Linked DNA regions of Homo sapiens: region 1 is linked to region 2. The links are contacts of gene promoters, found by promoter capture Hi-C in human tissues and cell types (Jung and others, 2019). All regions are on one chromosome and are shown on one strand. Each heading gives the region's core, a stretch centred on a gene start or on the middle of the fragment in contact. The rest is flanking DNA. Distances are from core to core; before and after follow the strand shown. Region 1 overlaps LSM5 (LSM5 homolog, U6 small nuclear RNA and mRNA degradation associated). Region 2 holds the start of RP9 (RP9 pre-mRNA splicing factor).

The links. Contacts are between HindIII fragments. The study calls those that stand out against the background at their distance.
Region 1: a contact is called between a fragment that was not itself captured here and the fragment with the promoter of RP9 in region 2, in 1 of the 25 tissues and cell types used here (lymphoblastoid cells).

Annotation. Positions count from the first base shown.
Region 1 is chr7:32,481,342-32,486,295 of GRCh38, forward strand. LSM5 (LSM5 homolog, U6 small nuclear RNA and mRNA degradation associated) reads right to left here. Exons shown (of 5, transcript NM_012322.3): 5 at 3,997-4,954. Among named protein-coding and RNA genes, the nearest start is that of LSM5, 6.6 kb to the right of the region's middle. The HindIII fragment of the contact is 4,347 bases long and covers 1-3,793 here.
Region 2 is chr7:33,106,200-33,111,035 of GRCh38, forward strand. RP9 (RP9 pre-mRNA splicing factor) reads right to left here and starts at 3,205. Exons shown (of 6, transcript NM_203288.2): 1 at 3,022-3,205. The coding sequence starts at 3,173. RefSeq lists silencers at 2,861-3,090, 3,101-3,580. The HindIII fragment of the contact is 15,438 bases long and covers 1-4,836 here.

The DNA of each region.
Region 1 (4,954 bases), core at 370-2,869, 630 kb before region 2:
GACTTCTTCATGTGGAAGCAGACACCTCTAAAACTTACAGGAAAAAGCAGAGCAGAACCCACACTCCCTCAGGCAACTCAGTCTGCATGTCTCCGGGCATACAGAATAAAAGGACAGAGAGAGGGCAGATGTGTTACACTAATTAAGCTTTCATGTAGAAGAAAACATCAGAGGTAGAAAAGAAGCATTTCCCTTACATTCCCCATCTTTTTGTTCTTTTCACTCACTGAACTTAACCATTAGAGCCATAGAGAAGAACACAGTCTATCACTCCCAAATCCAACTGCCATTGGGATCACTGGAAGCAGTTTAGATTTTGCCCCAAAAGGCTCTAAACAGAGTCAGAATAATATATTAATTAAGGCAACTCCAAGGCTTCTGTAATTCTAAGTCTGAAAATTCACTCCATTTCCCACCCAAAGTATGCCCACCACATTGTTGAGGCGGGAAATTAAAGAAAAATAAACTTAAAAAGAAAGAGAAATAAGTTTTCCTGTGTTAGGCTGACTTGTCCCAGAGGCAGCAAAAGGCACAGCCCAGACCCAGGAAGTCTTGATAATATTATCTAATGTGCTCTGGAAACTCTCCCAGCATTCCCTCAACATACGGAGAAGAAAAACAAATTTTCCTTCGTTTTATGGAATGAGTTTATAGATTCCTGTTCTCTGTAACCAGTGACTTCAAACATTCTGTTTTATCTAAGCAGTAGAGTGAAGGTCAGAGCCTCTGAGCAGGCCTGTGTTATGGCCACCTGGGTGCCAGTGAAGGTTATAGGATAAGCCCGTGCCTAGGCAAAACCTAGATAACAGACATCTGGGTTGACTGGCAATGGTCATGTGTAATCCTGAGTTATGATCTGTTACAATTTGATTAACTGTCTTTGTCCTGCCTCTGTATCCCTGCTTTCAGGCCACTGTAAGCTTGCTTCAAGCTAGCCCACCCCCTTTTGTGAAGTGTGCATAAAATCAAGTGCTGTCTTTGTTCTGGGCCCAGTATTTCAATGTTAAGTCTGCAGGGTCTGAGTGCACTCAATAATAAATATATCCTCCTCTATACACCCCAAGGTCTCTCTCTGGTCCTCCTGATCCTGCAACATGATCTGTGATGGCTAATTTTAGGTGTCAAGTTAACTGGATTAAGGATATCTAGAAACCTAGTAAAGCATTATTTGGCTGTGTTTATGAGGGTGTTTCCAGACTACTTTAGGGTGTGAGTCTGAGTGGACTAGGTGAGATACACCTTCAATGTGGGCCAGCATTCAGTTGACAGAAGGTCCAAAGAGAACAACACAGAAAAGGCAACATGTCTGTCTCCCTCCTAGAGCGGGGATAACTCTTCCTTCTCTGTCTTTGGATATAAGAACTCCTGATGTTCTGATGATGTTGTCCTCTGAGGACAGAGAAGGAAGAGTGATCCCAACTTTAGGAGACCTCTGGACTCCAGGACTTACACCAGTAGCCCCCTGGGTTCTCAGGCCTTCAGCCTCAGACTGAGAATTTTATCATGAGCATCCCAAGCTCTGAGGTCTTTGGACTTGGACTGAGCCACATCAAGGTCTCCAGCTTGCAGACAGCCTGTTTTGGGGCTTCCCAGCCTCCATAATCGCATGAACCAATTCTCCTAATAAATCCCCTTATATATCTATATACATATACTATTGGTCATCTCTGGAGAACCCCAACTAATAAATGGTCTAACCTGGCATATCAGCACACCAACACCCAATAATAAAATGCCAACAACAGAGATGCCCAAATCTACATATAATCCTGTGCCATTATCAAATTTACTGGAATTCAAAAATTAAACCTCCTTCCAAATCAAAGTCCAAAAATGTTAAACTCCACTAGAATTAAAATCCAAAACTAAATACCCTTATTTTTGTAAGTTAAGAATCAACCAGCCTAGGCAACATGGTGACACCCTGTCTCTACAAAATATTAAAAAATTAGGCCAGGCACGGTGGCTCACAACTGTAATCCCAGCACTTTGGGAGGCCAAGGCGAGTTGATCGCTTGAGCCCAGAGTTTGAGACCAGCCTGGGCAATATGACAAGACCCAGTCTCTATCAAAAACACAAAAAATTAACCAGGTGTGGTGGTGTGCACCTGTAGTGTGGGAGGATCACCTGAGCCCGAGAAGTCGAGGCTACAGTGAGCCATGACCACTGCACTCCAGTCTGGGTGACAGACCGAGACCCTATCTTTAAAAAAACAAAAAGAGAAAAGATAGCTGGGCATGGTGGCACCTGCCTGTGGATCCAGCTACTTGGGAGGCTAAGGGGGGAGAATCGCTTGATCCCAGTGGTTCGAAGCTGCAGTGAGCACTGATCACACCACTGCACTCTAGCCTGGGTGACAGAGCAAGACCTTGTCTCAAAACAAACAAAAAATGTCCAACATTCTTAAGTTAAATGCCCAAAACAACCTTTCCCAAATCCTTATTCTGTTCAGTCTTAACCAGAAGGGGGTTTGATGCTTAGGTGGTTAAAGTCCTTTCAGCAGCCACAACCCAAGCTGTTACTCATGGGAAAGTAATTTCTTTAGGGCCTCAGAAGTTACACTAGATATGCCTCAGATACATCACTTTTTAAAAATTGAGATGTAATTCATGTAACATGAAATCCACTCTTTTAAGGTTATAATTCAGTGCTTTTTAGTATATTCACAAGGTTGTGCAACCATCTAATCCCAGAACTTTTTCATCACCCCAAAAAACAAACCCATACCCATTAGCAGTCACTAGTATAGTTGTCTATTTCTGTGAATTTGCCTGTTCTGGATCATATAAATCAAATATGTGGTCTTTTGTGTCTGGCTTCTTTCACTTAGCATAATGTTACAGTTCATCCACACTGTAGCATACACAAGTACTTCATTCATTTTAACAGATAATATTCTATTGTATGAATATATCGCATTTCAGTTATCCATCCATCCATCGATGGACATTTGGGTTGCTTCCACTTTGAGACATTAGGAATAATGCTGCCGTGAATGTTCATACAAGTTTTTGTGCAGACATGTTTTTAGTTCTCTTGGGTATGAACTGAGGAGAGGAGTTGCAGGGTCGTATGGTAATTGTTTAACTTTTTGAGGAATCATCAAATTATTTTCCACAGTGCATGCATCATTTTACATTCGCACCAGCAAGGTACTAGGGCTCCAATTTCTTCATATCCCAGCCAATACTTGTTACATTAATTTTTGTACAATTCTTGTTACAATAATTTTTTATAATTATAGCCATTCTATAGCACCCATGAAATGGCGTTTCATTGTAGGTTTTGAGACGGGGTCTCACTGTCACCCAGGCTGGAGTACAGTGGTGCAATCATAGCTTACTGAAATCTCAAACTCCTGGGCTCAAGCAATTCTCCTGCCTCAGCCTCCCAACTACGTAGGACTACAGGTGCATGCACACTACCACACCTCACTAATTTTTTAAAATTTTTGGTAGAGATGGGGTCTCACTATATTACCCAGGCTGGTCTCCAACTCCTGGCCTCAATCTATCCTTCCACCTCGACCACCTACAATGTAGCACTGGGATTACAGACATGAGCCACTGCACCTGGCCTAACTCCTATGATGAAAAAAGGAAGAGCTTGGGTATGACTATTAGCTCCCCTGGGATAGCAAATAATAAAGGGGTGGAAAGAAGCAGGTGTTACATCACTTACTCCCCTCCAAAGGGAAAGAAACAACAGTGGAGGGAAAGCATTGCCCCCAAGAGTTAGAAGCAAAGTGTGAGGCAACCAGCTCATACTGGCTCCTGAGAATCAACTGTCAAATCCTTGAGAATTTTGCAAACCAGTTGTTAAAGCCTTGGTAGCTTGAAATTAGCCAAGGCAGTAGTACTGACAACATGTAAATCAGAGAAAACTACAAATCAGTGCTTTGTGTTTTGGAAAATAAGGTTGGATCCTTTTTCCATGTGGTAATACCAAAATTCCAGATAGATTCCAGATTTAAATCAAACGCAGAAAACATAAAGTGCCCAAAGAAAAGTATAATCAAAGCAAAGGTTTTCCAATCCACGTGGACCAAATACAAAAACCATAATGGACTAGGTCAACATGCAACTACATTAAAATACATCATTTATGTCAAAAATAGCACTAAGTGGCAAACTACAAACTAGGGAAATTATTAGCAAAATACATGACTAACAGAAACCCATCAAGAATTCTTACAAATTAGTAAGAAAAAGACAAACATCTCAATGGCAAAAGCCTCAACAGATAAGTCATTTACAAAATACAAATGAGATCAAAATTAATCAAGAAAATTTTAGGCCAGGCCTGGTGGCTCATGCCTTTAATACCGGCACTTTGGGAGGCTGAGGCAGGTGGATCACTAGAGGTCAGGAGTTCAAGACCAGCCTGGCCAACAAGGTAAAACCCCATCTCTCTAAAAATATAAAAATTAGATGGGAGTGGTGGCGCCCACCTGTAATCCCAGCTACTCAGGAGGGTGAGGCAGGACAATCACTTGAACCTGGGAGGCGGAGGTCGCGTTGATATCGCGACAAGGCACACCAGCCTGACTGGAGGTTGCAGGGAGCCAAGATCATGCCACTGCATTCCAGTGAGACTCTCCAAAAAAAAAAAAAAAAAAAAAAAAAGGAAAAGAAAACTTTAGACATGCCCGGTTTTCTTGTAAAAATGGCAAAGAGGAGAGAAGGTAGAACACAGCTAATGCTGGGAAGGATATAAATGGTACTATGAAAGACTCCTGGCAAAAATATACATTGGCACAAACTTTTTCTTGGCAACACAATATATACCCTTTGATCTTACACATTTTTGAGTTTATTCTAGAAAAATACAAATGTATAAAGATCTAGTTAGACTACTGTGGCCAGTAAGAATAGGCTAAATAATTTATAGTAAATCCATTTAATACTATGTACATATTAATGTTGAAATATTTGACACAGAAAGATATTCACC
Region 2 (4,836 bases), core at 1,955-4,454:
CTCTGTTGCCCAGGCTGGAGTCCTGGAGTGCAGCCATGGCTTACTGCAGCCTCAACCTCCCAGGCTCAAGCAGATCTTCCCACTTCAGCCTCCCAAGTAGCTGGAACCACAGGCATGTACCACCATGCCTGGTTAATTTCTTTTTTCCTTCTTTCTTGCAGAGATAAGGTCTATAAATGCTGCCCAGGCTGGTCTAGAACTTCTGGCCTCAAGCGATCTTCCCACCTCTACCTCCCAAAATGCTGGGATTATAGGCGTGAGCCACAGAGCCCAGCCTAGTTATAATAATGTTAATACTAAGCATTCGTTTAGCAAAAATTGCTATGATGGAACTATACTGGAAGATTGGAAACAAGAAGGGTAGGTAAAGAACTAAATCCTTACTGTGACAAGAAGTTAAGAGGTATGTCTAAGATGTTGAATTGATGTAAACAGTATAAATATACAATTTAGGAATATACAGTTGGTGGGCGCAGCGGCTCACGCCTATAATCCCAGCACTTTGGGAGGCTGAGGTGGGCAGACCACTATGTCAAGAGATCGAGACCATCCTGGCCAACATGGTGAAGCCCCATCTCTACTAAAAATATAAAAATTAGCTGGGCATGGTGATGCACACCTGTAGTCCCAGGTACTTGGGAGGCAGAGACAGGAGAATCGCTTGAACCCAGGAAGTGGAGGCTGCAGTGAGCCAAGATTGCACCACTGCACTCCAGCCTGGGTGACAGAGCGAGACTCCATCTCAAAAAAAAAAAACAAAAACCAAACAGTTAAATCCCAGAAGTAAAACCTAAAAGTTTACACAGAGAAGCCTGGTTTGGGAGGGGGAAGAGGGACACAGGGAATATGAGTGGTTACTGAGGAGTTGGGCAGCCTATTGCTATTTTTTGGTAGCACTTTTAGTACTATTTGAATTTTAAAACTACATATTACTGTGGTATAAATACAATTTAAAGCTCAAACAAGATTCTGAACTGGCCAAAGCAAATGTCTCAACGGCTCATTCAGTTTTAAATCTCAGAAACTGGAAAAATCCCACCAGTCAATCAGACACCTGGGTTCAGCTCTAGATTTGCTGGTTAACTAACTGGTCAATGTATGCTTGATCACATGACTTAACCACTGTTCCTCCATTTTTTCATCTGTAAAAGTAGGTTATAATCTCTCTCATCTGTGAAAAAGCTCTCTGAGCTACAAATAAGTGGAATTAACCATCCTCTAGCATTCTATAGCTAAATATATTGAGGGCTGGGCAGGGCCAGGCATTCTGATGCTTACGCTAGGGGAAGATCTTTGAACACCTGACTTCCCTGGGAGACCAAGAGCGCCACACAGTGACTTGAAAGGGCCAGGACTGCCCTGTAACATGGATGCCCACAATGCAGGGTCTCTATCCTGCATCCCCTGCCCTGCTAAGGGGAAAAGTCGTTCAGAGCGGGCCACACTGGAAAAAGAGCAGGCCAGGTCCCAACATAGGAATTTATCTCACATCAAACCTCCCAGAAGGTTAATTATAAAAAGGATTTTAATTCTTTGAGGAACTTTTCTTATATGAATTATGTTTTTTAAAAGTAGACAAATTAAACTCTACTTGAGCAAAGAACTGTTTTCAAAGAGGGCACCCCCATAACCAGAATAGGTCCAGAGCAATTCTCAGGCTGCCACCTGGTGGGATAACATTTATGGACAGGAAAAGGAAAGTGATGTACAGAAAAGCAAATGAGGTAGAGAAATAGCTGGATTCCATACAGCCTGGCGTTTGCCTTCTTTGAACAGGGTTTCAAAGGCTGACCACCTGTGACGGCCTGAAAATCAGCTGCTGTGATTGTCTGAGACTCAGGTACTTATAACAGTAGGTTACAGTCTGTTTACACATCTACTTAGGTTACAGTTCACTAAGTACAGAGAAACTTTTAGGCTAAACTTAAAATATTCAAGGAGGCAGCGTTAGGCTATACTTAACACCTACTTAGCACAGGTAACTAGAAGTGGCTAAAACAGAAACGAATTCTTGAATAACTGAGTGAATGCCACACTTAGAAAAGGTTGTTTTATGCAGCTAATTATAGAATCACGGACAAGAACTGAAAGAGTTGCTGCCTGAACTTTCCACTCGAGGTCTGTGTTAGAATTTAGGAAACGCCACCCTGATAAATGACTGCAAAAGACAAGAATGCACCATCCCCAAACATGCCACCCTGGCATATTGATGACTTTGAGCTATAAGTAACAGAACCAAACAACACAGGATAACTTATTCAGCTACCCCTCAACTGCCTAAAATAAAGTATGACTGCTTTTTTTCCTTTTGTTCTTATTATTTTTCGACTCGCCTGTTGTAAACAGAAATTTACACCTATAAAGGAAATTTTCTGTAGTAAATGTATCTGTATCAGGAAGACAGCTGCTTGGGGGCAACTTTTATCGCCTGAGCGCCTCATCGGGATAACAAAGCAACCTTTATTCACCATACATTTCCCCCATCACCCTTCCAAAAGGTCTCCACCACGCCCCAAAAGGCCCACGCCCCTATTCCCTGGCCCTTCTTTGTCTCCCACTTTTGTGGCCCTCTAGTGCACGGGTACATAATTAAAAGTTTTTCTCCTGTTAATCTGTCTTATGACAATTTAATTTGTGGCCCAGCTTAAGAACTTAGAAGGGTAGAGGGAAACCATATTTCCTTCCCCTACATTTGAATCTTCTTTACACCACACTCTCCCGGGTCATTTGGACTCTCCTGGAACCCCCTGGAGCTAGGGAAGCGCAGGGCCTCCCAAGTCAGATTCTGCTTGGTGCCGAGCGGCAGTTGGCTCCCTGAACGCCCCGCCAGGAGGATGGACTTCAAGTCCTTGACCGCGGCGCCCGACATCGGTCGCCCGCACCAGGCTCCTGCCGGGCCCAGCCCCCCTGCCTGCTCGCGGGGGCTCGGAGGACCCGGCCTAGCGCCCACCGCGGCGTCCCGCGCCCCGGGCCCCTGGCTTCAGAAGACTGGCCGCGCGCGGACGGCAGCTCGGGACTCACAAGGACTCCAGGTGCTTGAGCTGCTGCAGCTGCTGCGCGTCGTGTCGCCGCCGCTTCTGCTCCCGACGTCGCTGCAGCTCCTGCTCCGGCGGCTCACGCGGCCGCCGCGCGCCCGCAGCCCCCACGTCCTCGCGCCCAGGCCGGGACGACATGTCAGCCCCCGCAGCGCCGCTCGGGCAACCCCCGCGGCGCGGCTCCGGCGGCGGCGGCGGCGGCGGCGGCAGCCAAGAGAGCACTTCCTCCGCGCGGCGGTCGCGGGGCTTCGCAGCGCCCCCTCCCGCCGCCGCCCCGCAACTCACCCCGGCGGCCCCGAAGTCTCAGCCTCGGCCACCCGATCCCCGCCTCCCCGCGTCGGGCCCCAAGTCAGGGGCTCCGGGTCTCGGGCCCAGCCGCCAGGCGGGCTGCTGCGGGTGGGTGGGGAGCGCCGCCTAGCTGGAGCCGAAGCGGGGCGAGGCGCTAGTTGGGAGCCTGGAGGTTCCCGCCCGGCCACACCCACCTCAGGTATACTAGCAACAGTCACATAGGGATGAGCAGATGAAATGTATTCATAAAAAAATGTTCAAATTAGCCAGGCGTGGTGGCGGGCGCCAGTAGTCCCAGCTACTTGGGTGGCTGAGGCAGGAGAATTGCTTGAACCCAGGAGGCAGAGGTTGCAGTGAGCCGAGATGGTGCCCCTGCACTCCAGTCTGGGCGAAAAAGCGAGATTGTCTCTCAGAAAAAAAAAAAAAAAAGTGTTCAAAAAGTGAAATGTATAAACATATAATTATGTTCGGTAATAGTGTGCACCCAGCTTTATAACTGCGGTCATCTGATATACCATGAGAGACAACCTAACTCTTTTGACAGGATGGGTCACCATGACGTCACCACTGTGCCAGTCACCCGAGGAGCCAAGATCCTGAGAAATTTCATCTTTCACAAATGCAGATGTACAGAAAAGACACTTATTTATTTATCGAGGAAATTTCTACATTTTTGCATATATGTAGAATGCTTACACAGTCACCATTGTAATAATGAGCTTTGATTGAGTCATATTTGCAAAAAATGCATAAAACAAATTTGAACTCTCTAAAAGTCTTTATATAGTTGATGCCTCCAGTATTAGAAATGATGTTAAGATGTAATACATAGCATAGTGAATTGTAAAACATAATGCTGACAATTTACAATAATGAAAAAGCTAAAAGAGAAAATAGAAAAACGAAAGCAAACTAAAAAGAAAATTCAACATAGAAAAAGTGTATTGCAGGGATAGATTATGGGCAATTGCATGGCGATTGTCCACATGAACTGCCCAACTTTTATGATGATTAACATATTTTGAAGTCTTGCATCATGATGAATAGCTTTTTTTTTTTTCTTTTAGGACATGGCTCTCCTCGATGATACAGTCTCATTAATTTTCTATGTGATACTGCTCTTTCCAAAATTCTTTTTAACTTTTTAAAGTTTTTTATTTTGTAGAGACGGGGTCTCGCTATGCTGCTTAGGCTGGCCTTGAACTCCTGGCCTCAAGCAATCCTCCTGCCATAGCCTCCCAAAACACTGGGATTACAGGTGGGAATCACTGCACCTGACTATGAAATTATTTTGTGATTTGATATTCTCTGACTTCTCTTTGTGCTTTCTTTCTGTTGTACCCTCCTGTCCATGAACCCCTCTGTTTTTCATTTTATTCTTCTGCCCCCTCCTAAGACACCAGAGATTCATTCTTGAGGCCAGTCAAGCAGCCTTGGTGTTGGCCCACTGGTGGGGCAGCTGCAGTTGGTCCTTAGTCTGTGCTACTGGACAGGTTTTAAACCTTTCAGAATG